Regions from separate parts of the Homo sapiens genome. Here regions 2, 3, 4, 5, 6 and 7 are each linked to region 1. The links are contacts of gene promoters, found by promoter capture Hi-C in blood cells and fetal thymus (Javierre and others, 2016). All regions are on one chromosome and are shown on one strand. Each heading gives the region's core, a stretch centred on a gene start or on the middle of the fragment in contact. The rest is flanking DNA. Distances are from core to core; before and after follow the strand shown.

The links. The method cuts DNA at HindIII sites, captures the fragments that hold promoters and counts their contacts. A CHiCAGO score of 5 or more calls a contact.
Region 2: a contact is called between the fragment with the promoter of FXYD4 here and the fragment with the promoter of TMEM72 in region 1, in 1 of 17 cell types (M0 macrophages). The highest score is 7.4, in M0 macrophages.
Region 3: the fragment with the promoter of ZNF485 here is called in contact with the fragment with the promoter of TMEM72 in region 1 in 9 of 17 cell types (M0 macrophages, erythroblasts, total B cells and 6 more); the score reaches 12.0 in M0 macrophages.
Region 4: a fragment that was not itself captured here is called in contact with the fragment with the promoter of TMEM72 in region 1 in 6 of 17 cell types (total B cells, total CD4 T cells, M2 macrophages and 3 more); the score reaches 7.8 in total B cells.
Region 5: a fragment that was not itself captured here is called in contact with the fragment with the promoter of TMEM72 in region 1 in 16 of 17 cell types (M2 macrophages, total B cells, non-activated CD4 T cells and 13 more); the score reaches 15.2 in M2 macrophages.
Region 6: a fragment that was not itself captured here is called in contact with the fragment with the promoter of TMEM72 in region 1 in 16 of 17 cell types (total B cells, M1 macrophages, M0 macrophages and 13 more); the score reaches 18.9 in total B cells.
Region 7: a contact is called between a fragment that was not itself captured here and the fragment with the promoter of TMEM72 in region 1, in 11 of 17 cell types (naive B cells, total B cells, activated CD4 T cells and 8 more). The highest score is 13.3, in naive B cells.

What each region holds. Positions count from the first base shown.
Region 1 is chr10:44,909,529-44,913,364 of GRCh38, reverse strand. It overlaps TMEM72 (transmembrane protein 72), which reads right to left and starts at 2,028. Exons shown (of 5, transcript NM_001123376.3): 1 at 1,783-2,028. The coding sequence starts at 1,852. All of the region lies in intron 2 of TMEM72-AS1 (TMEM72 antisense RNA 1), which reads left to right. The HindIII fragment of the contact is 1,552 bases long and covers 879-2,430 here.
Region 2 is chr10:43,369,757-43,373,592 of GRCh38, reverse strand. It overlaps FXYD4 (FXYD domain containing ion transport regulator 4), which reads right to left and starts at 1,957. Exons shown (of 9, transcript NM_173160.3): 1 at 1,896-1,957; 2 at 821-866; 3 at 1-78. The HindIII fragment of the contact is 9,288 bases long and covers 1-3,836 here.
Region 3 is chr10:43,604,578-43,608,413 of GRCh38, reverse strand. It overlaps ZNF485 (zinc finger protein 485), which reads right to left and starts at 1,976. Exons shown (of 5, transcript NM_145312.4): 1 at 1,868-1,976; 2 at 1,340-1,417. The coding sequence starts at 1,363. It also overlaps the pseudogene CAP1P2. RefSeq lists a silencer at 1,661-1,940 and an enhancer at 2,221-2,270. The HindIII fragment of the contact is 2,214 bases long and covers 250-2,463 here.
Region 4 is chr10:43,627,550-43,631,385 of GRCh38, reverse strand. It overlaps ZNF32-AS3 (ZNF32 antisense RNA 3), which reads right to left and starts at 2,569. Exons shown (of 5, transcript NR_038867.1): 1 at 2,408-2,569. It overlaps LOC124902416 (a long non-coding RNA gene), which reads left to right. Exons shown (of 2, transcript XR_007062132.1): 1 at 1-68; 2 at 341-604. It also overlaps the pseudogene RPL21P88. The HindIII fragment of the contact is 5,917 bases long and covers 1-3,836 here.
Region 5 is chr10:43,658,657-43,662,492 of GRCh38, reverse strand. All of the region lies in intron 1 of ZNF32-AS3 (ZNF32 antisense RNA 3), which reads right to left. Among named protein-coding and RNA genes, the nearest start is that of ZNF32, 12 kb to the right of the region's middle. The HindIII fragment of the contact is 3,787 bases long and covers 1-3,638 here.
Region 6 is chr10:43,678,844-43,682,679 of GRCh38, reverse strand. No RefSeq gene overlaps it. Among named protein-coding and RNA genes, the nearest start is that of ZNF32, 32 kb to the right of the region's middle. The HindIII fragment of the contact is 529 bases long and covers 1,587-2,115 here.
Region 7 is chr10:43,703,135-43,706,970 of GRCh38, reverse strand. No RefSeq gene overlaps it. Among named protein-coding and RNA genes, the nearest start is that of ZNF32, 56 kb to the right of the region's middle. The HindIII fragment of the contact is 639 bases long and covers 1,504-2,142 here.

The sequences.
Region 1 (3,836 bases), core at 779-3,278:
AGGATAGGTACATACATCTTAGAACAGCCTCTCGACGGGAGGTGGGCCTCAGCTCTGGGTGGAGTGTGGCTGGGGGAACTGTGGGATTCTTGGCATTTTACAGATTTGGAAACCAAAGCCTAGAGGGAGCAGGGTGGACTCAGATCAACAGACATGGAAACCTATTTAGGGTGGCCTTCCTCTCCCCAGGATGGCTTTTTTGCTTGTTGGGGGTCTTGGCCATCATTCTCTTATGTGTAGACGACAACGTGGTTCTGAAAGTGGCTGGATCTGGCTCCTCCCTCAGTGCCTCCACTCAGAGCCTCAGCAGAGCAATTCTGAACCTCTTCCTGCTGCCTACTCTGGAAGACAGGGAAGGTTTTGGCCAGAGCCCTGGCCTTTGTGAAAGTTGAAGGACCAGGGCTCCGGGCTGGCTGTCCCTCTGACCATGACCTTGGGCAAGGTCACCACCTGCATTTGAGCTCAGGTGCCCCATCCTGTAGCAGGAGGGGTGGGGTTAAACCATCCAGCAGCCCTTCATGATCTAACTCATGGCCTAGATGCTGGAAGAGCCCACTGGCCAGCTCACGGCTGAACCCAGCCCAGTGCTCCTGAAATGACCCAGCTTCCCATTGAGCTCTGGAGTGTGTCATGGGGGCTTCTGCTGAGAGGTTTTCATCCTCAGTTCCACTTAGCCATGCTCAGTTCCTGCATCCTTAATCTGTCCAAACACCTGGCCAGCAGGTCCCCATCATACAGATCAGAAAGTGCAGCCTCAGAGGGGTCAGGGGCTCCCCAAGGTCATATATCACGCAAGTGACTAGGCTGGGGCAGGAACAAGCACTATGTGATTTTGACCTAGGAGAACTTTCCCATTTGGTAAGACCCGTGGGTAAGCTTTTGCCCAGTGGTGGGGAAGGGCTTTGATAGGGGGTGTGTCTCTCTTTGTCCCCAAGGGACAATGTGGCTCAGAGTTAAGGGCTCAGAATTCTGCCTGTTCATTTCCCCAAAACAGATCCTGGCTCTGTAGGGGGAATGGGGCTAAGGGTCAGGCCTGCCCTGGGGAAGCGAGCAGGCAGGGCTCAGGATGGTGGCTCTGGGCTCTGCTCTAACAGTCTGCCCTCCTGTCCAGTTGAGCAGCCCTGTGATTCTGCTGGGTGAAGGAAGGAGCCCAGCATCTCTGGGAAGCATCTCTGCTGCTAAGACCACAGTGCATTCCTGCAGTCAGACCTCAGACAGGGGTCTGGGTTCCTACAGGGTGTTCTGTTAACAGGGTCCAGCATGGGCCCGAGGGAAGCCTGTGATCTCCACGTCCAGCCAGGCTCAGCCTGTCCCTCCAGGGCAGAGCTGCTCATGACTGGGAGTTCTCTCTCCATGAGGTAGGGCTATGGTTTGAGTAAAGCAGGATGAGCTCAGTTGACCTTTTGTAGATACACAGCGAAGCCCAGCCCTTTCTATCTTCACCTTCTGTCTCCACCTCCATCTCATGACAACTCTCTGCGTAGGTGGGGTGGCCCCTGGAATCATTTTGCAGATGAGGATCTTGAGGCTTCCCAAGGTCACAGGGAGGGTGACTTGCCAAGCAAAGATCCAGCACCCAGCCCTCTGGTCCCCAGCCCTAGGCTCACCCCACTGCACTTGCTGCTGCTCTACAGAGCAGTGTTTCTAGGGGTCTTGGGAAAAAAATTGAAGCACAGAAGTGGCCAGATGTGCCTGCTGTCTCCTGGCCACCTCCCACCCCTCAGGCAGCCCTATCTGTGGTGCCAGTGTGCAAGGATCAGCAGCCAGGAGGCAGGGTCTTACCTGCAGCAGTGGTGATGCCCAGGAGCCGGCAGGTGTATTCCAGCCCAGTCCAGAACACCTGGAGCTGCATGGTGCCAGGGGTGAGGACAAAGTCCTGGCAGGGCAGGCAGCAAAGTCTTCGGCCCTGAGATGCTCCCGAACACCCTTGTGTAGGTAGGAGGCTGCTGGCTGTGGCTGCACACCGGGGCCCTGCCTTCCCAAACCAGTCCTGGCCACCGCAGCCTGGCCGAGGTGTGAATAGGGCTCACCTTCTGTGCTCTCAGCCCGTGCCCTTGCCAGGCACTCAGCTTAATCATTACCTTGGAAGAATGCTCCTGCTGCTCACACAACCCCAGCCTGGGCTGGAGCCGCTCAGCCCCAGCGCAGCCCAGCCGCCTGAGATCGGCGATTAGGGCTGGGCTGGAGGCAGTCTGGAGCTGGCAATTAACCGTTTCTGGCTGGGAGGAGGGAGCCAAGGAGTGGGCCAGGCCCTTCCTCACCAAGCCATGCCTAGAAAGTCACACCTGGATTTCACACTTGCTGGGGGCCTGTAGTGTCTGGCTCTGGAGGGGACAGTGCTCTTGCAGGTCTGTGCTTATGTGCATATGGGAGAGAGGAGTGTGTCTTTAAATCACCAGTAGAAACAACTTTTGAAATGAGTTCCAAGCTTTATTCTTCTGCGTATAGGTGGATTAGAAAGCTTTTCAAATCTGTCCCGGATTTGGACTCTGACTAGACATACTTAGCTCAGGCCCCGCCACGCAGAGGCCTTCCTTCCTCATTAACATGCATCCCAACATGGGACGTGGGAAATCATTTTGATTCTTTGTTTTGCGAGGGGAGTTGCTATGTCAATAATTAACCGGGTGACCTTGGGGAAACCCAAAGGCATCTGTGAGCCTTGGTAACTTTTGCAGAAAATAAATGTGAAGTTTTGGCTGAATTGGTGTTTTTGATGTACTTGGAGTGTCCCTGTAGCTGTTTCAAGGAGCCCAGCCTTTACACTTGGACAGTGGTGGGCTTTCCCTCATTCTTAATTTACTAACGGATGTGCTAGATTGAATGGTATTAAGATTTATCTCTCAGGTGTTTTTCTGAAATCTTTTACCCCTTTGCTCATATAAGATAGAAAACAAAACAACCAAATAAGGAAAAAAACTCCAAGCAAACCCAATACACATGCTCCTCAACTTATGATGGGGTTATGTCCCAAAAAACCCATCAGACATTGAAAATATTTTAAGTTAAAAATGCACTTAATCCAACCAACCTACTGAACATCAGAGCTTAGCCTGGCCTACTTAAATGTGCTCAGAACACTTAGTTTATGGTTGGGCAAAATCATCTAACACAAGGTTTATGTTATAAAGTGTGGAGTAGCTCATGTAAGAATATATTGTAGGGCATGTTGCTAGCCCAGGAAAACATCAAAATCCAAAATTTAAAGTACAATTTCTACTGAATGTACATCATTTTCACACCATCCTAAGTTGAACCATGGAAAGCCAAGGTCTGCCAATAATAACGGAAAACTCAAGAACAATTAGTTTGGCCCTTCCCTCCCCTCCCTTCCCCTCCCCTCCCTCCCCTTCTCCTTCCCCTTCCCCTTCCTTTCTTTCCTCTTTTCTTTTTTTTTTTTTTTTTGAGACAAGGTCTTGTCTGTTGCCCAGGATGGAGTGCAGTGGCACAATCTTTGTGGCCTCAACCTCCCAGGCTCAGGCGATCCTTCCACCTCAGCCTCCTGAGTAGCCGGGACCACAGGTGTGCACCATGCCTGGCTTGCATGTTTCTTGCTTGAGGATGATACACCCTCAACATATATAATGAATAGATATTTTTTGCTATTAAAATTATTTTAATTTGATTGATTAATTTGATCAAGAATCATGGCATTCCATAAAGATTACCGTTTTTTGTATTTTTCCGCCTTGAATGAGTTTAGGAACTTCTGTGCTCGTGTGATCTTCAAGATCAAGTTTATGAGTGTATGATTTACATATTTATTTCCTGGGTTAGTTGTTTTCTATTAGCAGACTATCAACTTCAATCTTCTTAAACTTTGACATATCTTGACA
Region 2 (3,836 bases), core at 708-3,207, 1.5 Mb after region 1:
CCCAAGGATACACTTGCTTGTGGGGAGATCTTGGGAAAGTAACTACTTTCTGTCTTCCCATCTAGAGATGGTGGTGGCCTGGGGGAGTTGTGTGGATTGAGTAAGCACAAGCTAAGAGCTCAAAACTGTGCCTGCACAGAGTAAGTGCTGTAGAAGGCGTTGTTAAAATCCATGCGACAAACCCACCCCCTACTCCTCCCCATGAGGAAGATACTATTATTGTCTCTATTTCAGAGAAGAAAAAAAAAAATGGAGCTTAGAGAGGTGTAATCAGATGCCCAGGGTCAGGTGGCTGCTATTCTAAGTCAGGGTCTGGAGCCTGCCTTCCTAACCCCACACAAAGGGCATTGTTATCAGGCCCCAGGCTATTGTTCCCAAAGGTCTGGGCCTGGGGTGGCCAGAGTCCAGCACCCTCAGTCTGAATTCCCAGAGAGCCTCCACAAAAGCAAGGGTGTGGAGGAGGGAGGGAGTGCTGAGTCCTGGGATGAGATGACTGCAGCAGCCAGGACCTCCCCTGCCAGCCCTGGCAGGGGACCCTACTCCAGCAGACCCAGATTCTGCTCTCAGAGTATAGACCTCCTGTGGTATGACATTTCCCCCTCAGGTTGGAAGTAGCCAGGACCCCATTTACTTGTCCTTAGGGAGGCTGAGTCTTTGAGCGCAGGCCCCCTCCCAGCCCTCTGCATATTGTTAGCCTAGTGTGGTCAAGTTTTCAATACTGAAGCCATTGTCATCATCTGCTGTACCCAGCTCTGGCCTCCTGATGAGATCACAGATCCAGGGCCAGCTGTCTGGGCTGGGTCCCTTCTTAGCAACTTACCAACTGTGTGACTCTGCAGGTTCCTCACTGCTCCTTCACCAGTGTCCTGTAAAAGGAGGATCATCAGAATAGTAGCAACCTCATAAGGTTATAGCGATGGAATTACGTGAACTACTATTTGTCAAGCCTAAGAACTATGCCTAGCACACAGTAAGCACTAAAAACCTGTTACAATAAATACATCCATAGGCCGGGCGCAGTGGCTCACACCTATAATCCCAGCACTTTGGGAGGCTGAGGCGGGTGGATCACCTGAGGTCAGGAGTTCAAGATCAGCCTGGCCAACATGGCAAAACCCCATCTATACTAAAAATACAAAAATTAGCTGAGTGTGGTGACAGGCGCCTGTATTCCCAGCTACTTGGGAAGCTGAGGCAGGAGAATCACTTAAACCTGGAAGGTGGAGGTTGCAGTGAGCCGAGATCCTGGCACTGCACTCCAGCCTGGGCAACAGAGGGAGACTCCATCTCAAAATAAATAAATAAATACATCCATAAATAAACACATGGTCCTTCTGCAGTGGGAGGGAGGCACTGGAGGGAGAGACTGTTAGGCACTGCTTCTGAACATCGGTTCTTGGGCTAGGAGCAGTCTCCAAAGCTGGCTTCCCCCAGCCTTCACTGGTCTCTCTACCTTCACCAACCTGGAGTTCCTGGAATACGAGGGTCTCAACTCTAGGTCACATTTTTTATTTTATTATTATTATTATTACTATTTTTTTTTTTTTTGAGACAGGGTCTTGCTCTGTTACCCAGGATGGAGAGCAGTGGCGTGATCTCGGCTCACTGCAGCCTTGAACTCTCTTGGCTCAGGTGATCTCCTCACCTGAGTATCTCAAGCAGTTGGGACCAGAGGTATACCCCACCAGCTCATATATTCTTTAGCCAAGGGCTGGCTTCTGTTTCCTCCAACCCCCAACCCACCATCCATATGATAGTGGGTGCAAAGCAGGAGGCCTTCAAGCGGCTGCTGCAGCCATATCTGTCCTCAGACCCCTCAACAGGCTCCTCATTACTCAGAATTCTTGGGCACCCACCCCCTTCACCCAGCAGCCCCAAAGTGGACGCCTGCTCACCTGCGAGGTCACCTTGGCGAGGGCTCACCTGAGCTGGCAGCGCAGAGAACGGATCTGAGGAGGCTGCTGGGCACGTGGGTCGGCTCTTTAAACCCTGCAGCCACGCCCAGGGCTCCATGACGCAGGCTGGAGGGAACTGGTCAGGCTCCCTGCCACACCCAGGGCTGTTGGGGAGGGGCGGGCTGGGCCGAAGACCCTCTTTTGGCTTCTTTTTTTTTTTTTTTTTTTTTTTTTTTTCTTTTTTTGAGATGGAGTCTCACTCTGTCACCCGGGCTGGAGTGCAGTGATGCAATCTCAGCTCACTGCAACCTCTGCCTCCTGGGTTCAAGCAATTCCCCTGCCTCAGGCTCCCGAGTAGCTGGGACTACAGGTGCACGCCACCACACCTGGCTAATTTTTTTTGTATTTTAGTAGAGATGGGGTTTCAATGTGTTGCCCAGGCTGGTCTCCAACTCCTGAGCTCAGGCAATCCGCCCACCTCGGCCTCCCAAAGTGCTAGGATTACAAGCGTGAGCCACCGCGCCCAGCCTTTCTTTTGGCTTCTTTAGCTCACCCAGATCCTAAAAGAGGGACCTGGAGGGTGCTGGGCAGGGTGTTCCTGGGCTCTTGTGCCAGCTTTGGGGGTTCTGGGACCTCTGTGTGGGGGTGTCCTGGGGACCACGGAGGATACCAGGAGCCAGGCACTGACCTTGAGGCTCCCTGTGCTCAGCAGTGCCATGCCACTGCTGTCACTTGGGCTGGGTGTCTACTGAAGGGAGGCTGGTGGCCGATGGGCACCCCCGGGGGTGGCTCACCCTCTGACAGGGCCCTGACACCCACTTAGCCTCCCCCACAGGTGAGGGATGGGGCCAGGAGGAGGATAGACGCCCCCGGCTGAGGAGTGGGCTGCCTCCCTCTGCAGACCTCAGGCCTGCCTTGTTGCTGGGGGCCAAAGTCACCCCACACAGGCGTGTGGAGGACCCCAGGCCTCCCTAGTCTGCTGTTACCCCTCCTTAATTCTTTTCCAAATGAGGGACACTTGTCCCTGTCCAGAAGGTAAGGGGGGATGGCTGACAAGGGATGGGGGTCTCTGGGCTGGGAGGGCTGGGGAGGGCAATGATGGTTTAGTTGGTTTGTTTGTTTATTTATATATTTATTTTTGAGCTGGAATTTCGCTCTGTCGCCCAAGCTGGAGTGCAGTGGCTCGATCTTGGCACACCACAACCTCCACCTCCCAGGTTCAAGCAATTCTGTCTCAGCCTCCCGAGTAGCTGGGATTACCGGCACACACCACTGTGCCCAGCTAATTTTTGTATTTTTAGTAGAGATGGGATTTCGCTATGTTGAGCAGGCTGGTCTCGAGCTCCTGACCTCAGGCGATCCACTGCCTCGGCCTCCCAAAATGCTGGGATTACAGGTGTGAGACACTATGTCTGGCCCAGACATACTTTTAAGTGGAAAAAAAGTATAGGGCAGTCTGAATAGGATGCTGTCACTTGTGTAAAAATATAAAATATTGGTTGGGAAAGGCGGCTCACGCCTGTAACCCCAGCACTTTGGGAGGCTGAGGTGGGCCTGTGTCTGTGTGCATGCTGCATGGGGCTTAGCACAGAGGAGGCGTCCCGGTGTTTCCTCAGCCAGCTGTTTACTTGAGTTCATTGCATATATGACTGCACCTAGCCCTCACAGAAGTCTTTGGAGGTTCATACTCTCATTAGCCTGTCAATCTACAATAGTCAAACAGGTTAGATTTTAGTTTAAAGGAGTTTATTTAAGTGTAAAGGTTAAGGATGGCCTGCTCAGGAAGTAAGGATGGTAAAGAATGGAAGTCATGGCTGGGGGCGGTGGCTCACGGTTGTGATCCCAGCACTTTGGGAGGCTGAGGAGGGCAGAACATGAGATCAGGAGTTCAAGACCAGCCTGGCCAACAAGGTGAAACCCCGTCTCTACTAAAAATACAAA
Region 3 (3,836 bases), core at 727-3,226, 1.3 Mb after region 1:
CCAGGCCTAGCCTCTGCTCACTCCACCCTTCATGTCACCTCATCAAAAAGGTCTTCTATTTCTCCACCCCATCCTCTGCCACTCAGTCTCGAAACCCATTTCACTTTTCTTCACAGGATTTCTCACCACCTGGCAGGAGAGGTTTGCACTGACTGTCAGCATCCTCTCTAATGTGAGCTCCAGGGGGACAGTGTGGGTCACTGCTGCCTCCCAGTCAAAAACACTGCCTGACACAGAAGTGTTCAAGCTTTATTCAATCAACAAATGAATAGAAACTTTGAAAAGACATGGAAAGTGATTAGCTTTATCCGAGAATTTACAGGGAGTATGATCTGACTCTGGGGCAGAATATTTTTAAAAAAGAAAAAAAAATTGCTTTTCATAAGAGTAACAACTTACTATGTACCAGCCACGGTGCTAAACCCTGAGATACATATCATCTCTCTAAATTTCTGCCGTAACTATATAAAGTAAAATCTATTTCGTAGCTAAAGACACAAAGGTTCAGAGAGTTGGAAGAACTTGCTCAAGGTCCCAGGGCTGGTTGAAGGCACAGTATAAAAGGAAGCCACAAAAAGTGGTAATGAAACTAGAACAAATTGGAATGGCTATGAAATACTAAAAGAAAAAATGAGTAAGCCTTAAAAAAATGAAAAGTGTGTTTCAAATGAAATTACTTGACTTAGAGCAGTAGAAATGTAGGTGATCTTTAATTTTTTTAATTTTATTTGTATAATAGACACTCAAATGTTTATCACTTCCTTTCAAAATACCAATTATTTAATCAGCTTCTCAAAATCCTTCAAAACCTAGTTTTCTCCAGGATAAAAGCAAACTCCAGTCTGGGATTCTAGACCATGAATGTTTCCAACTTTCTCAGACCAGTTTGTTCATGGTCCCGCCATAATGACTTCATTCAGGCAGCGCTTTCCCCTAGTATCCTCTGCAATTATGCAAATCTCATTTATTCTTCAGGAAGAACTAAGGCGCCCACTACTCCACCCCTCCCACCCTACCACACACTAAAGGTCAAGAGAGCACTGCTATCACCCTATGTCTTTATGGCCTACGTCTTTACATGCTAACGTGTATTTTTTTCATCGTCTGCCAGTTTGCAAAGCACTTTTCTGTTTCTAGCACTCTAGAAAACATGGGTAGCAATAATCTACTTGGTGAATGACTACGTAATGGGTAGACAGGACGGAAATCGCGGGACCCATCCAGGATTGGTTCGGGTAGCTTTGTCCACACACAGGGCAGGGCATTGTCCGGGCAAGAGGCATAAACCCCACCTCGCTGAAACACGTGGTTTCTCAAGAAATGGAAAAATCAAACTTGCCTGGATCTGGGCTCTTGGGGCCATCTGTCTCCTGAACTGTTCTCCCAGGCAAGGGCTGAGAATCCTGCGTAAGTCAATCTGGGAAAGAAGAGAGGAAATTGAGGAAGTCCCTCCGTGCCCTAGCCTAGCTAGAATCTGCCCTCTAGACCAGGTCCCCGCCCGCCCGTTCCCTCCACAGGTGGGCAGACAGGTCCAGGTGGGTACGCTCGGGAAGAAAGGAAAGGGAACGGCTGCTGGGATCCGGCCTGGACTGCAGCCAGCTCCACGCCAAACACTTTTGGCAGCACCGGGGGACGGCCTTGTCAGTGGCCCAATCTGTCGGCCGGGGCGCAAGGCTGGAGCGCTCTGTGATGCACCAGCCTCGAGCGGTCGCTCCACACGGCGCAGCCACTGCGGGTGGGCACTGCCCACCGCCGCCTTCCCCTCCCACCCCGGCTCGCCCCTCGACCCGCCCCTGGGAAAGGCGGGGAGCACCCGCCAGGGGCTCGAGGCTTCAGGGACCCAGCCTGACCCCGGCCGCTCACGAACCGAACCGAGCCGGCAGGGCTGCGGAGCTGCACGCCCAGAGAGTCAGCGACCACACCACGCCGTTCGGACAGTAACCACCAGCCAGGGGCTGGTGCAGCGCTCGCACCACGCGGAGACAGGCTGGACCGGAAGCGGAAGTGGCTGAGGCCGCGGAGGCCTCTGGGAAACGTAGTCTGGGCCGCTTGGGGTCTTAGGGGCTCCATCCGCAGAGCAGGTTGGCATCACCTGGGAATCTTTGAAAAGTGAAGGTGCGGGAAGTGGAGAGCGGCTGATCGCAGTCGGGAGGTGATACATTATGACTGACATGCAAAATCTGGTAAAAAATTGGACAGGGCAGTGGGCCGCCTGGAGGCAGTATCCCATACCTCTGACATGCACCGTGGATATGGAGATAGTCCTTCAAAAGCAGGAGCAGCTCCATATGCGCAGGCATTTGACTCGCTGCTTGCCTGCCCTGTGGCAGAGTACTTGAAGATCAGTAAAGAGATTGGGGAAGACGTGCAGAAAGATGTGGAGATGGTACACACAGTTTTGAAGTTGGAGTGAGCTCTCTTGGTTACAGCTTCTCAGTGTCAATAGCCGGCAGGTAATAAGCTTTCCGATCTGTTGGCACCTATCTCAGAGCAGATCAAAGAAGTGATAACCTTTTGGGAGAAGAACCGAGGCAGCAAGTTGTTTAATCAGCTGTCAGCTGTCAGTGAAAGTATCCAGGCCCTAGGCTGGGTGGCTATGGCTCCCAATCCTGGCCCTTATGTGAAAGAAATGAATCATGCTGCTGTGTTTTATACAAACTGAGTCCTTAAAGAGTACAAAGATGTGGATAAGAAGCATGTAGACTGAGTCAAAGCTTATTTAAGTATATGCACAGAGCTGCAGGCTTACATTAAGGAGTTCCATACCACCGGACTGCCTGGAGCAAAACGGGGCCTGTGACAAAAGAACTGAGTGGACTGCCATCTGGACCCTCTGCTGGATCAGCTACTCCTCCCCCACCACCAGGCCCCCCTCCTCCACTAGTCTCTGTCAGTTCAGGCTCAGATGAGTCCGCTTCCCTCTCAGCACTGTTTGCGCAGATTAATCAGGGGGAGAGCATCACACATGCCCTGAAACGTGTATCTGATGACATGAAGACTCACAAGAACCCTACCCTGAAGGCTCAGAGTGGTCCAGTACGCAGTGGCCCCAAGCCATTCTCTGCACCTAAACCCCAAACCAGCCACAAAGAAGGAGCCAGCTGTACTTGAACTGGAGGGCAAGAAGTGGAGAGTGGAAAATCAGGAAAATGTTTCCAATCTGGTGATTGATGACACAGAGCTGAAACAGGCGGCTTACATATACAAGTGTGTCAACACGATGTTGCAAATCAAGGGCAAAATTAACTCCATTACAGTAGATAATTGTAAGAAACTTGGTCTGGTATTCGATGATATGGTGGGCATTGTGGAGATAATCAACAGTAGGGATGTCAAAGTTCAGGTGATGAGTAAAGTGCCAACCATTTCCATCAACAAAACAGATGGCTGCCATGCTTACCTGAGCAAGAATTCCCTGGATTGTGAAATAGCCAGTGCCAAATCTTCTGAGATGAATGTCCTCATTCCTACAGAAGGCGGTGACTTTAATGAATTCCCAGTTCCTGAGCAGTTCAAGACCCTCTGGAATGGGCAGAAGTTTGTCGCCACAGTGACAGAAATTGCTGGATAAGCGAAGTGCCACTGGGTTCTTTGCCCTCCCTTCACACCATGGGATAAATCTGTATCAAGACGGTTCTTTTCTAGATTTCCTCTACCTTTCTGCTCTTAAAACTGCTTCTCTGCTCTGAAAAGCACAGCTACCTGCCTTCACTGAAATATACCTCAGATGTGCAGTGGGATAGCAGGTCAGTTGATCTTCTGCAGGAAGGTGCAGCTTTTCCAAATCAGCTCAACTGCCGACGAGGACTAATGATGCATTTTAGCTTTGAGCTTTG
Region 4 (3,836 bases), core at 388-2,887, 1.3 Mb after region 1:
CCTTCCCATTTGTTCTCACACAGTGCGCTTCTCTGGGCAGAGCAGACTGGCACTTCTGCTGAATCCAGGTACCTTTCTCTTTGGCTTCCTTCTTTTTCTGATCATTTTCCTTCACAAGTTTCAGGAAGCTAGCTCAGCTCTCAGAGCGCTTAAAGTGCTCAATACCCACATGAATTCTCTTGGCAAGAACTTGCCCTTAACTTGTGTGTTTACAACAATGCCGACGGCCTGCTGCGTAACACTGTAGACTCTTCCAGTTCTGCCATGATAACACTTGTGGGGCATTCCTTCTTGAACAGTGCCCACTCCTTTAATGTCTACAATATCATCTTTCTTATAGATTCACATATACGTGACCAAAGGGAACAACTCCATGCTTCCTAAAAGGCCTAGAAGACATCTACCAGGAGCCTCTCCTCTTTCCCTTTGTGTTTGTCATTTTGTCGAATTACTGGAAGACGGTGGTTCTGGCCAAAAGGGCCATAATAAACTTTTATTTTCTTGTTTCTGTGTTTTTCTATAATAAACATACATTATTTTTATAACCAAAAATGACCAACAACATACATTAATTTTCTCTTTAATAAACTTTATCTGATTTTCCCATTAAAGCTAAACATGCTCCTTACCACTTCCAAAGAAAAAGTTATACTTAAAAAAGCCAATAATCTCCCTACTCCAAAATCCCAAGTGTTACATCATTCCAAATAACATCACTCCAAAGTTACACACACACACACACACACACACACACACACCACAGTATACTGGTCGTGTGTATTTCTATATACTATTTGATATATATACTTACACAAACCATGGAATTTGAACATATTTTCTTATTTCATTCTTTTTAAACAAAAAAGGACCACTCTATACACATCGTTTGGAAGTTTAGTTTTTCTTTTTTCATTAATAAACGTATCTATCTTTACATTCTAGTAACATATTACTGCAAACTTAGCAGGTTGAAAAACACAAATACATTATCTCACAATTTTGCGTGGTTCTGAAGTTAAGGAGGGGCCAAGCTGGGAACTCTGCTCAGGGTCTCACCAGCCTGAAATCAGGTTGCCAGCCAAGCCGTGTCCATCTGGTCTTAACTAGAGAAGATCCCTCCTTAGCCCATTCAGATGGTGGCACAATGCATTTCCCGATGGCTGTAGTACTAAGGGTCCCAGCTTCTTACTATTAGCTGAAGTTTGCCCTGAGGTCCTGCAGGCCACTTAAACTTCTCTGCCACCACATGGCAGTTTGCCTCTTCAAGTCCAACAGAAGAGAATTTATCTTCCAAGTCTGCTAAGAGTCTGCTTATCTTCCAAGTCTGCTGAGAGTCTCCAGAGTCTTATATAACATAACCACCATAGGAGTGGCATCCCATCACCTCTGCCATATTCTATCAGAGGCAAGTCTCTGGTTATTCCCACAAAGGGAGAGGTTACACAAGGGCGTGACCCATTGAAGGTAACTTTAGTGTGTTACTTTTCTAAGGATTCTATAATAAAGTACAACAAACCAGGTGGCTTAAATAACAGAAATTTATTATCTGGCAGTTCTGGAGGCTAGAAGTCCAAAATCGAGGCCGTGCTCCCTCTGAAACTGTAGCGAGAGCCCCTCCTTGCCTGTCCCTAGCTCTGGTGGTTTGCTGTCAACCCTTGGCGCTCTTGGCTTGCAGCTGCAGGACTTCACTTTCCGCCTGTGCCATCACATGGCCTTCTCCCATGTGTCTGTGTCTCTACATTTCTCCACCTCTTATATGGACACCAGTCACATTGGATTAAAGGCCCACCCTATGCCACTATGATGTCATCCTAACTAATTACATCTGCAAAGATCCTATTTCCAAGCAGGACATGGTCTGAGGTACTGGCAGTTAGGACTTCAACATATCTTTTTGGAGGACAGAATTGAACCCATAACACTTGGGGTGTATCCTCCACGGTATCAAAAACATTCTTCTGCAGAAATACATATAAATCCAACCTAGTGGTTCCTGAGGACATCAGCATCACCTGGGAACTTATAGGAAATGCAAATCCTCAGGGCCTATCCCAGACCTACTGACCCCGAAACTGCGGAGATTGCGGAAAAGGGAGGGAGAGACAGCACACTGTGTTTTAACAAGCCTACAGCCCATTCTTCTTACCAGCTGCACAGTTTGACTCTCAACCCTACCAGACTCTCTAGGCAGACCCAAAACTCCCTTCAGGGCAATAAAAGAGCAGGAAGAAAATTCCAAGCAGCAGGTGGCCTGGATTACCCTACTCCTTACACAGGGGGTTGAGACAGTGCATGTCTGTCCTCCTTTTCCACGCCAAGTTCCTCATTGCTAGGGCTTCCATTCAAGAATCAATGCCACAGAAAACTAGAAAAGTCAACAAGGATGAATAAATACATGATTTCTTACCTAATTTTGATGTCAAGTCACAGGAAGGAGTACAGACAAGTCAACCATGCCAAAAAGGCCCCACACATGCAAACTCAAAGGAACATCTTCATCTTCCCTTTTATCATGGGCACAGGTCTCTCCCAAAGTCCCTTCCACACCATCCACCAAGTCCAGTTCACCAGATCACCTGTAGCCCTGCCCTGATTTTGTTTACTTTACTTGCATTTGGGGTCATTATGATGTCGTTGCCATAGGGTCAGGGACTTAGTGACAACAGAATGTACAATCCAGCCATGACCAAGACTTGTGTTTCTGCAGTGCTGAATCTCACCTTACTCTTAGAGAGCCTCATTCCTTTGATTAAAGAATGCAAATCACTCTACAATTCTGCTTGTTTTCTAATTTCTATCTCTTCCCAGTAATTCTGGCCAGCCTGCCTAGTTTTTCTTGATTTTACTGATTATACTCCTTTTATGTTTTCAGGCCACTAACCTCCCTAGCTTTGCCATAGTCCGAGATGGCGACTGTAATCAATACATCTCATTCAACACAAGCTACAGATGTGATGGAAAAACTTGTTTTACTATTACCGTAACCTTTCAGGAAGTTTCTTGGGGTTTTGCCTATACAAACATCTCATATAATCCTGACTATAGCCTGTTGTGACCCTGTCTCTGCTTGCTTCAAGGCAATACTCTCTCCCTCCCTCTTAACTCCAACGTTGAGTCTCTTGCCTTAAAGCCATTGTACACATTATTCCTCTTTGCAGCAATCATCTATCACCTGGGTCACCCCTTGAAGATTTTAGTTCCTGTATCATTATCACTCACTCCAGCTCTACTGTCATCACACTTGGAGTGCTTATAAATGACTCATCACTTTTCCTCCTTACTTCCAATGAACTTCCTCTCCAGAAGACCAGAGCCACTCACCTCCATCCATGATCATATTTGTAACTTCTGCATTATTAATCCAACAATGGTCTCAATTTTAATCATCTCATTTTCTGATTATCAACTCCTGTCTTTGCATCTCACTTCCTCTAGTGAACTAAAGCCAATAAATTGTCAGCTGCATCAATAATTCATGGATCCTGCTACTCTCCCACTACTCTTCAACCTTCCTTACCAGCTTACATTATATGGTCCCTCTTTGAATCAATCACCTGCTTGCAAACACCCTCAACTCCCATATCTTGCTATTATTTTTAAAAACAGTTTTATCAAGGCATAATTCACATACAATAACACTCACTTATTTTAGGTGTACAATTCAATTATTTTTAGAAAATGTGCAAAGCTGAACAACTAACATTGCAATCTATCATTAGAACATTTGCACTACACCATTAACAAACTTCATTTCCATTTGCAATCATCCCTCATTGCTACCCTCTGCTCCACGGGACCATAAATCTAATATCTGTTTCTATAGACTTGCCTTTTCT
Region 5 (3,836 bases), core at 496-2,995, 1.3 Mb after region 1:
ACTAGGATTTTACTGTTTTTGCTGCAGTATAATCTAATCTACTTTCACTGATACAACTTCTTTGGTGGTAATTTTTAGTGGAGATGTAATTTAGACACACAAAAAAATGCAAAACATTCATTTCAATATGCTTTGGTAATTATATTACTCCTGTGCAATCACTGTAAACAAGAGATGGTGCATGTCCATTACCCCAAGTGTTTCAAGTTCTTTCCAACTAGTCCTCCCACCTTCTTCCATCCCAGAGAAACTATGCTCTGGTGTTCTGATTTCTGTCATCATAGATTAATTTTTCTCTTCCTGAGCTTCATATAAATGGGATCATATTGTCTGTATTTGTGTCTTGCTTTCGTTCAATCCACATAATGTTTTTTTGAGATCAATGTATATTGTGCGAGTCAGGTGAGCATCCTTTTGTTGTTTGCTGACTACTATTCCATAGTATTAATGTGCCACAGTTTGTATATCCATTCTACTATTGATGGACATTTGGTTGTTTTCCCTTTTGGGTTATTCGAATAAGGCTACATTCTTGTGCAAGTCTTTTTGTAGACGTGTTTTATTCCTGTTGGCAAATACCTAGGAGTGAAATTTCTGAACCATAGGGTAGATGTATCTTGAAACTTATAAGAAATTAACAAAAGGTCTCTAAAGTTCTCCAGCCATTTTATACTCCTTTCAGCAATATTTGAGAGTTCAGTGCTATATATTCTTGCCTATATTTGGTTGCGTTGTCTTTTATAATTTTAGCTAGCCCAGACTGCTGTTAGCATTCAGTCCAGAAGCCCTCGGGAGAGAGGGCCTTTGCTTTCTTTCCCAAAAAAGTCTTCCTTAACAAATGGTGCTCAAGCACTGATTATTCACATGGAAAAAATGAACTTTGACCTCTACGTCACTACATACACAAAAATTAAAATGGGTTATAGACCTAAAAATAAAAGCTAGAACCATAAAGCATCTAGAGGATAACACAGGAGATTCTTAAAAAAAAAAAAATTAGAGTAGGCAAAGGGTTCTTAGGACACAGAAACATTAAATCATTAAAAAATGATAAATTTGACTTCATAAAAGTATTTCTCCCAAAATACTTGAGTTATAATTAATTATATTTGAGCACCACCATGCCAGGCTAATTTTCATATTTTTAGTAGAGACGGGGTTCCACCATGTTGGCCAGGCTGGTCTTGAACTCCTGACCTCAAGAGATCTGCTCACCTCACCCTCCCAAAGTTCTGGGATTACAGGTATGAGCCACTGCGCCTGGCTGATTTTCTTTGTATTTTCTAATGCTTTGATCCTTTTTATGTCATAATGATTTACCATATTTTGTAAACATTTTAGACACCAGAAAGTCCCCAGGCAGGACCTGATGGCTCACGCCTGTAATCCCAACACTTTGGAAGGCTGCAGTGGGAGGATCTCTTGAGCCCAGGAGTTTGAGATCAGCCTGAGCAACATAGTGAGATCCTGTCTCTACAAAAAAATTTACAAATTAGATGGTGTGGTGGTATGTGCCTATAGTCCCAGCTACTCAGGAAGCTGAGGTGGGAGGGTGGCTTGAGCCCAGGAAGTTGAGGCTGCAGTGAGCTATGATCTCCACTGCACCCCAGCCTGGGCAACAGAGTGAGACCCTGTCTCAAAGAAAGGCTCCAAAGTCAGAATCTATCGATGAATTCTGTTTTGTATTTTTGTAATTTCTACTTACCTTTGCCAGCTTGACTTTAATAATGGTGAGTCAAATTGTCTAACATATTTTGTCAAATTGCTCCTAACTCTACATCTTATGTCTTTATGTCAAAAAGTAACAAAATTCATAAAGTTTCAAAGACATTATCCTTAATATTGATAATAATTTTTGTTAAATGCTGTTTATACATATTTTGCCAATTGCAGTTGACTAAACCATGCCCTTTTAATATTAATATTGGTGTCAGTGCCTGTGATCCTATTTGGCAAAGGCTTTCTGGTTATTCTGCTGCTGCCCAATGCATATCCCGTCATGAAAGCCTGGTGAGTTGGAAGGAACAAGGTACTTGAGTCAGACCTGGGTAGAATCCCACATCGACTGCTCACTGGTTGTGAGATCTTGGATATGTGTGGTAACCTCTCCAAACCATGGAGGGAAGAACAATGCCTACTACAAAGGATGAAATTATAGATTCTATGCAGCAATGGCTACATACACACATCTGTGACCAAGAGCGACAGACGTGGACTGTTTCCAAGCCCATTTTTTAAATTATATTTATATTTGAGCATAGTGGTGCTCAAATATAAATATAATACCAAACCATCACTATGGTTTGGTATTTTTGAGACAGGTTCTCACTCTGTTGCCCAGGCGAAGTGCAGTGGCACGATCTTGGCTCACTGTAGCTCCGCCTCCCAGGTTCAAGCAATTCTCGTGCCTCAGCCTCCTGAGTAGCTGGGATTACAGGAATGCACCACCACGCCCAGCTAAGTTTTGTATTTTTAGTAGAGACGGGGTTTCACCATGTTGACCAGGCTAGTCTAGATCTCCTGACCTCAAGTGATCCACCCACATCAGCCTCCCGAAGTGCTGGGATTACAGGCGTGAGCCACCGCGCCCGGCCGCAAGCCGGTCTTTAGGGGATTTTGTGTATTCGTTATGGTTTGGAATTTATTGGGTGCCTAATATACACAATACTTGTATATTTTAGACAAGTCAACATTTAGAAGCCCATCCAGAAATCCAGAAAAAGTTCACACAGATGGTGCGGAGTGATGGAGAGAGAAGAAGGAGGTGGCAGATCTACTAAATGATTAACAGGAAAGCTGGAAGGACCCGTGTAGGGAAATCGTGGGAGGTGAGGGAGCCCCCGCCCCATTGGCAGTGCCTACCATGGACACCTGCAGAGCAGGCCCAGCTTTTCATCTTCCTTATCTATTTACTGTCTTGGGATAAGGGAGCCACATTCTTGTTTGCTTCCATCTTTTACTAAGGTCAGCCAAGAAATCAGCCCAGTTTTGATCCTAGAGTTATTATCCTAAAACAGTATCAGTCTCATTTAAAATATATCTAGGCTGGGCTCAGGGGCTCATGCCTGTAATCCAAGCACTTTGGGAGGCCAAGGTGGGCAGATCACCTGAGGTCAGGAGTTGGAGACCAGCCTGGCCAACATGGTGAAATCCCATCTCCACTTTAAAAAACAAAAATACAAAAATTAGCTGGGCGTGGTGGTGGGTGCCTGTAATCCCAGCTACTTAGGAGGCTGAGGCAGGAGAAACATTTGAACCCAGGAGGCAGAGGTTACAGTGAGCCAAGATTGCGCTATTGCACTCCAGCCTGGGTGACAGAGCAAGACTCCATCTAAAAATAATAATAAATAAATATACTGGTAATGAACACACAAAACTTGGTTTGCCCTTTATGGAAGTGTAAGTCTTTAATGATTTTTGGTTTCCCTCCGTCCACTTTCCCACCTGTTTCTATTCTTTATTATTTAGCTCATGATCTTAAACGCTGGTTTAAAATGATACTATCTTCTCTTCCATTACTTACGTGTGTGTGTGTGCATTATGTGTTTTGTATCCATTTCCTTGGCCCTTCCTGTTGGAGTTTAGTGATTTTCCTGAATTCCCCATTACTTCAAGTAGCTTCGGGGCCACCACAAGCTTTCGACACCCCCCATGAGCCTGGGGGTGCTGTTGAGTCACCTGGTGCACATGGCATCTTCTGCTGGCCTCCCCAAAAAGGAGACTCTGAGACAGGCTTGGGGCTAGTCGTTTGGGAAGCACTGTCAGCCACTGAGCAATGAGCCAGAACCAGAAGCTGTGCCACACACAGGTGCAAGAATGAGTGGGGTACCACTGTG
Region 6 (3,836 bases), core at 602-3,101, 1.2 Mb after region 1:
ACGAGCCCTTTTGTTCTGGAACCTGAGTTCAGTCACCATTTGGAAGATGGCCATTCAGAGGAACATTCTGACCCACAACAGACTTTGTGAGAGCAAGAAATCAACTTTTATATGTTCACTCACTGAGATTTTCCAGGGTTTGTTTCAAAAGCGAGCATTAATTACCCTAATACACGTCTACCATCTGCCGGTAGCTGACTCCCAAAGGTACATCTCTACCTAGATCTCATCTCTGAGCTCTGAATCTGAATATATGTGTCTCCTCAATATCTCCCATCATAAGTCCAAGGGCCTTTCTTCCAGAATATGCAAACCTGACCTCATGGCACTGCCAATTGCTTCTCTTCCTGGGTTCCTATCCCAGTGAATGGCACCTTATCCATCAGCTGCTGAAGCCAGAAACTCGGAAATCATCTTCCATGTCTTCTTTCCCTCACATTCCCCAATATGCACCATCAGACATCTAGTCTATCCCTAAACCTAGTGGATTTTTCTCTCCTAAGTTGTACTTTTTCACCATTACTTCCCTAGTACCAGCCACCATCAGCTCTTGCCTGAGCTGCTGTGAATCCTCTGTTGCACACCTTTAATCTGCACACCTCTAACCCTGCAGTCTAAATTTTCAAAGAACAAAACTAGCCACAGCCCTGGCTGACTATTGCTCCCAGAATAAAAAGTTGGCATCCTCAATGCAGCTGCAAGACCCCACCTGATTAAGTCCCTATGAGTTTCCCAAACCTCATTTTATGTCCCTCGGCCCTCAGGCTCAGCGCTCCAACCACTTGGCCCTTCGTCCAGTCCTTGAACCCACTGGGCTCCTTCCTTCCTCATAGCCCATGCTGCCAGGTGCCACGACCCTGCTCCACAGAGACAGAGAGTTCTTGTGCCCTCGCCTGCAGCCCAGGCTAGAGGCTCCACATGTATCACTACACCTAATCCTCGAAACAATCCTCTGAGGTATGTGTTTTTATGCACATCCTATAGATGGGAAATTTGAAGTTCTGGGGATTTAGGAAACTTTTCAAGGTTTACATATCCAGTAAGTGATAAAAGTAGAATTCAAATGTCAGCCTGCTTGGCTGCAGCGTCCGTGCTGTCACTCCCTGCACTGTGAGGGAGACACCTGCAATGGTTGAGAGGACCATGGTGGAGGACCAGGAAGGATGGGCTTCATTGAGGAAGAATCAAGGCCCCAAAACACCCATTCCTGGAAAACTACAGGCGACAGGACCTGCAGGGATGGAGGAGGAAGCCAAGCCAATAACAAGGCTGGCGCTCTGCCTGAAGCATCTGCTGTGCTCCTTCCTCTTCCCAGGGCCCCAAAGGGCTCCAGTGATTGTCCCCACAACTCATGAGGGAGTCCACGACTAACATACTTAACAGTATTTGATAGCTAGTGGATAATTTTCTTATCATCAAGGAAATTATCGAGATAATTCCACGTCCTCATCACTATCACACATTTATAAAGTGTCTTGCCAAGCACAGAGAGGAAATTGGTTTTTAAAAATAAAAATGCTTATTGAGCACCACTGGATCCAAAGTTTTAGGTTGTCAAGAGATGTGATCCTTATTCCTGTGAAGCTTAAGTACCCATTGGGGTGTGTTCTGGTTATCCACAATCATGGAACAGACAAATCCAAACTTAGTGGGTAAAAACAGCCACTGCTTCTTTATGTCTCATTTTTTTGTGGCTGGGGAAATTGGGCAAGGTTTGGCTGGGTGACTTCTCTGTCCCACATGGCACTGCAGAGATCACTTGGTGGTATTCAGCTGGCAAGCAGGCTCTTCTGGAGGGACCAAGCTGACCTCACTGACACATCTAGTGACTTGGAAGACATGGGGGATGGCTCAGCCAGGCCTATCCATCAGAGCTCTATACAACAGACTACTACCGAGCAGTAAAAAGACAAATTACCGATCCATGCAACAAGCTGGCTGAATCTCAAAGGCATTACACTGAGTAACAGAAGCCAGTCTCAGAAGTTACATACTCTATGATTCCATTTATATGACATTCTCAAAGCAGACAAAACTATAGTCATGGAGTGGGTACCAGGGGCTGGGGGTGAAGGAAGGGACAGTGTGACTATAAAGGAACAGCATCAGGAAGCTTTGGGGGAGATGGAACAATTCTGTGTCCTGATTGTGGTGGAACAGCCCATTCCCAAAAGGTCACACTTACTGCATGTTAATTTTAAAAATAAAATAACTTTGAGTCAAGTAACAACTTCTTCTGTACTGAATACATGAGCACAGAAGTAATTCTGAATAGAAGTCTGAGCAGTCTGTGCTAGGGACATGATGTGTTGAAGAAGTGCCTCAGTCCATTGTGTGCTGCTATAACAAAATACCCGAGACTGGGTAGTTTATAAAGGAGAGAAATTTCTCTCACAGTCTGGGGGCTAAGTGCAAATTAAGGCTCCAGCATCTGGTGACTCATTCTTGCTGAGTCATCCCATGGTGGAAGGTAAGAGGGCAGGAGAGGATGAGAGAGGGTAGGGGAAGGCAGAAAAGGCAGGGCAAACACCCTTTAGTAAGGAACCCACGCCTGTGATAACGAACCCACTCCCAAGATAATAGCGTCAATCCATTCATGAGGGCAGACCTTCCTAAAGGTCCTGCCTCTTCATATTGTTAAAATGGCAATTAAATTTCAGCATGCACTTTGGAGGGACATTCAAACCATAGGTGGAAGTGAGGAAGGAATCCCTACCATGAGCCTCACCCTTCATCCAGGGCTCACCCGGTTGACTCCATTCATCCCAGCAGAACTCTGGGGAGTGGAGCCATGGTGAGTCCTGTCATGTCCCAAACAGGCATGAGGAGAAAGGCACAGAAAGACTCCGAACCTAGGAGAAGTCCGGGCCAAGTCAGCATGCTCTGGTTTCCCCGCCTCCTGGTTACCAGAGCTCCTTGGGCCATGCCAAGTCAGCATGCTCTGGTTTCCCCGCCTCCTGGTTACCAGAGCTCCTTGGGCCATGCCAGCACTTGACAGCAGGCACCGGGACACCAGCCAAAACTCCTCAAAACCGCCTCCCTAAGTTGCACTTGTCAGCAATTAAAACATTTGTCAAAGAGTATTTAATCCTAGTGTTATAAAGTGCTATGGCAAACAGATTTGGCTCGATATTTTTAAAAGTTCTGCAAAATGGCTACTCCCAACTGTAATTCAATTATGTTACTATGGCTTTAAACAAAAACAGTAACTAAAAAGATCATATTTTGATGTACCAGGAAAAAGTCATTTGGAACCACAAAGTCATCAATACTTTTTTAAAAATAAAAATAAAAAATAAAAATAATAATTCCAACTATAGAAAGGATCCTTAAAGCCAAGCCCCAGAAACCTCATTAGTCAAAGGACAAATACAACACACAGGATAGCAGAGGTCACGGCACTTACACCAAACTGTGGAAGAGACTGCGTTTTCTTGGGAGACCTTCAACTCCTTTTACCTCCCTTTCTGTTCACCACATTTGGCAGGGTTTATCCCCTTGAATTAGGAGTAGTGTGAAAACCAGTGGTTATTGTAAATCCAGAGGTTGTCGTAAATCCAGATCATAGACAGATATTTCCATCAGTCGAAATGTATGTGTGAGTAGGATTTAATTTACATGAAAGGGTGTTTGCCAAATGTTAACAACTGGTGGCCTGAGACGGTGCTGGGAGGTAGCAGGAAGCGAAGTGCAAGGCTGAGGAAGACCCTCTATAAGGGCCAGGGCCTGTGCAGAGACGTGGCGGGCAGCATGGAGATGGGGAGACAGAGCAGGCAGAGGAACATGGCAGACGGAGGAAGATGGCTGCGAGCAGAGAACATGGCAGACGGAGGAAG
Region 7 (3,836 bases), core at 574-3,073, 1.2 Mb after region 1:
GAAACCCTGCCTTTACTAAAAATAGAAAAATTACCTGGGCGTGGTGGCAGATGCCTGTAATCCCAGCTACTTGGGAGGCTGAGGCAGGAGAATCGTTTGAATCCGGGAGGTGGAGGCTGCAGTGAGCCAAGATCACGCCACTGCACTCCAGCCTGGGCGATAGGTCTCATTTCAAAGAAAAAAAAAATACATATATATATATATATATTCTATGTCATCCCCATCTCTCCTTACAAACTGCTGGCCCCTTCCCCGCCTACTTCGCTGGGCCCCACTCCTCTCCCTTCTCTGAATACTGGATCAACACAGGGCTCAGGCCTGGGCCCTCCTCAAATCCCACAGCTAATTCCCCTCACTCCTCCCAAACCTCTTTATCTCCCACTCGCCAATCTCAGAACATGTTGTTCAGGCCAAAAGGCTCAGAATCTTCCTGAATTCCTCCCTCAGGCCATGAGCACAGCCCACATCAGCCCACAGCCCCCTGCCCTGGGCCCCGGCACGTGCCAGCCCTTACAGCCTGCCCCACACGCAGCCTCAGAGGGTCACTTTTCCACTCGTACCCTTCAACGGTGTCCTGTGGCCCTAAGGACAAAATCCATGTGCCCACCATGGTGGCCAGGGCTCTCTGGTCAGCCTTTGCCTGCCTCTCTGCCCACATATATGCCTTCTGGCCCCACATCAGCTTCCTTTCAATCAGGGCCTTTGCCCTCACCCCTGCTGCCTGGAAACCCCTCCCTGAGGGTGAGTGGCAGCCTCACACTGCGACTGCTGTCACCTCCTGGGCATCCCCTGACCACTGTGAGCAGCCTCCGCTCTCTCCATCCTCCCTATCAGCACCTTGTGCTATTTTTTTTTTGTAACTTTACTGTTGTCTGAAATCATCTCACTGATTTCTTTGTTTTCAGCCAGGCGCGGTGGCTCATGCCTGTAATCCCAGCAATTTGGGAGGCCGAGGAGGGTGGATCACTTGAGGCCAGGAGTCTGAGACCAGCTTGGCCAACATGGTGAAACCCCCATCTCTACTAAAAATACGAAAATTAGCCAGGCATAGTAGCACATGCTTGTAATCCCAGCTACTTGGGAGACTGAGGCAGGAGACTCATTTGAACCCGGGAGGCAGAGGTTGCAGGGAGCCGAGATCACACCACTGCACTCTAGCCTAAACGACAGAGTGAGACTCTGTCTAAAAATAAAAAATAAAAAATCATTGTTCTCTAGCATACTATTTAGGAAGTGCAACTCTAGAAAACCAGGAGCTCTCTTTGTCTTCATCCTTGGCTTCTGAACCTTGCCTGGCTTAGAGACATTTCTCACTCATCAGAAATTAAAGAGCCATGTCATGGTTACCAAGCTACAGTTTTTGTTCATTATGTATCTTCAGTCTTCATGCTGCTTTCTGGCTCTTTCACCCAAACTGACAACAAGGTAGACTTTTGTGAACTGACCTTCCCATTCCTGAGTTCCTGTGGTTGATTATTCTCTCAGTTATAACACCATAAAGCTTAGCATAATTCCAGAGCCCTTGCACGTAAGAAGGGATTTGCTGTCTTAATATACAAAGTCAAATTGGGGATAAGAAAATGATTTCTCTGAAAATGGAGACATTGCCCTACTGTCTTCTGCAACTTGCTGCTGGGAACGGGTCTGACATCCTCCTGACAAGCAATTTATTCATTTCTGAGCAGCATGTGCTCTCAGATTGAATGTTTCTATACCTGTTTTTAATTTGTCAATTAAATTACCTATTTTTAATCACTGATAAAGTAATGGATATAGCTTTGTTTTTTAGAAAATTTGCCTTATACATCGTTATGTAAGTCAGTCTCTAGACCAAGCACTCTTTTCTCCCAGCTCAAGAAAGTTTTCAAATGTTCTATCCTTCATTATTGCTTCTTTGCAGTTATTTCTCGTTCTTCCTCATGATAGGCCATGTTATTCGAAGACTGCTTCTCCTTTTACTAGCCTCCTTGATGGCTGTATTTTTTCATTGCTTTCATCCCTTTGTCCTTTTCCTGTGGATTCTATGAGAGCAATTCGAATTTGCTCTACTGACTGGAATGTGTTTCTAGGGCTTCAGTTCTTTCCTTTATGGCCACTGTGGAGCGCTGGGCTCTGCTGTTGCAGGTGGGCACCTTTGAAGCTTTTCCTCCTGTCTGGGGTGCTTTTCACTTGGGCTTGTGCCTCAGCCTCTGCATTATCTGAGCTCCTCTAATAATCTTATATCCCCATTGCTCACTGAGAATTTGAAATATGGATCTTTAAATTCTTTTTTATTTCTTCCTAAAAATATTTTTTTCAAACACTGTATTTTCAACTATAGTCAGTGTATTCGGTTCAGAAGATGTTCATTGGTTCCATTGGTCCGTGCTCCATAAAAACCTTGTTACAGAGACACACAGCACACTTTCACCCTCTTGCCACCCTGGGTCCCCTGGCTGAACACCCCTTGAAGAGCTAAAGCTGGAAGGCACAGTGGGTTCACCCCCAGTCCCGATGTCAGTGCTTTGGAGACAGGCACTCATTGGGTGTGGTTGGCTGGGCTGAGGAAGGCAGGTTCTCTGACCCACTTAGGGTCAATGTATGCCCTTGTGAATACAGGAAGGGGCTTATTTTGTTCCACCAAATAGGCTACACGGAAGAAAAAGCCATGCCAGTCCTCCCTCCGCCCGGCCAGCAGCATTGTACCTTCGGGGACCACATGGTTCAGGACTCAGTGGGACATGTCCTCCCCCTTACCTCCCCAACATTGCAAACCAGCAGGGAGGAGGAGAGGCAAGGCCCAGGCTCAGGACAGATGAGCAGCAGTCCCTGCCCCAGGGGAGGGTAAGGTGCTCTCAGGGCTCTGCCAGGTTCAGTGATGGCCACTGGGCCACCAGGCCCCTTCTCACCTACATGCCTCTGGCCAACTGAGCCACTAACAATGAAAATGTCCTCAAATGTGCCCGAGAGTGTCTCATTATTTTTGAAGATAATGGAAATCCCTCCCAAGGCTAACAATTGTTGACACTGTTCCTGTGCAGTTTTTGTGTTGCTTTTTGGCTGTTTTCTGTACTTTGATGTGTATTTTAAGAACAAGTTGGAAGAGAGATTACTCAGGGCTACAATAGCCTCAGGTCACCGCTAGTGTCCTTCTCCTTGAATCCCCATAACATGGAGCCCAGAAGCTGGCACTAACAGATTCTCAGTAAGAATAGACAAATGAGTCGTGAGTTTTGGCTGAGATATTTGGGACTGGAAACTGATCTAGACCCAGGCTGGGATGGATCTAGGGCAGGGATTGGGCTGTAACAGGTCACAGGGAGTGGGGGACGTCAGAAGCCTCTGAAGGCACAGACACCACCTGAACCGAGGCAAGAGGCAAGTCCCGCGTGCAAACCAGGCTGCCCAGGAAGTACAGGGCTGGACGGCAGGACCTCAGTTGTCCGGAGCAGGAGCCCCACCCCTGTGGAGCTGATGCGAGCCACCACGCATCAGGGGGTTCAGGGATAGTGCAGGTAAAGGTGGAGCTGAGTGTCTCCAGCTGCTGCCTGGGCCTCGGGGCACAGGAGAGACCCAGACGCTGTGGCCACGCCTCCAGGGCCCCTGGGCAACATCTCCACCTGTGAACCTCCAGCCTTCGCATGCTGTCCTTGGCCTGCAGGGATCCCAGACCCCCACTGACAACAAGCCTTGCTTCTGCGAGGCCTGTTGCTGCCACGGCTGGTCCTAGTTCTAGGCATGAGATTTTGCCCTAAACACCTTTCTCTTCCACCTCTGGACACTCACAGTGGGATGGGGGAACTGGAGGACCTCCCTGCGCCCGGTGTCTTCATAAAGCAGAGCTTCTTGGGCCCAGG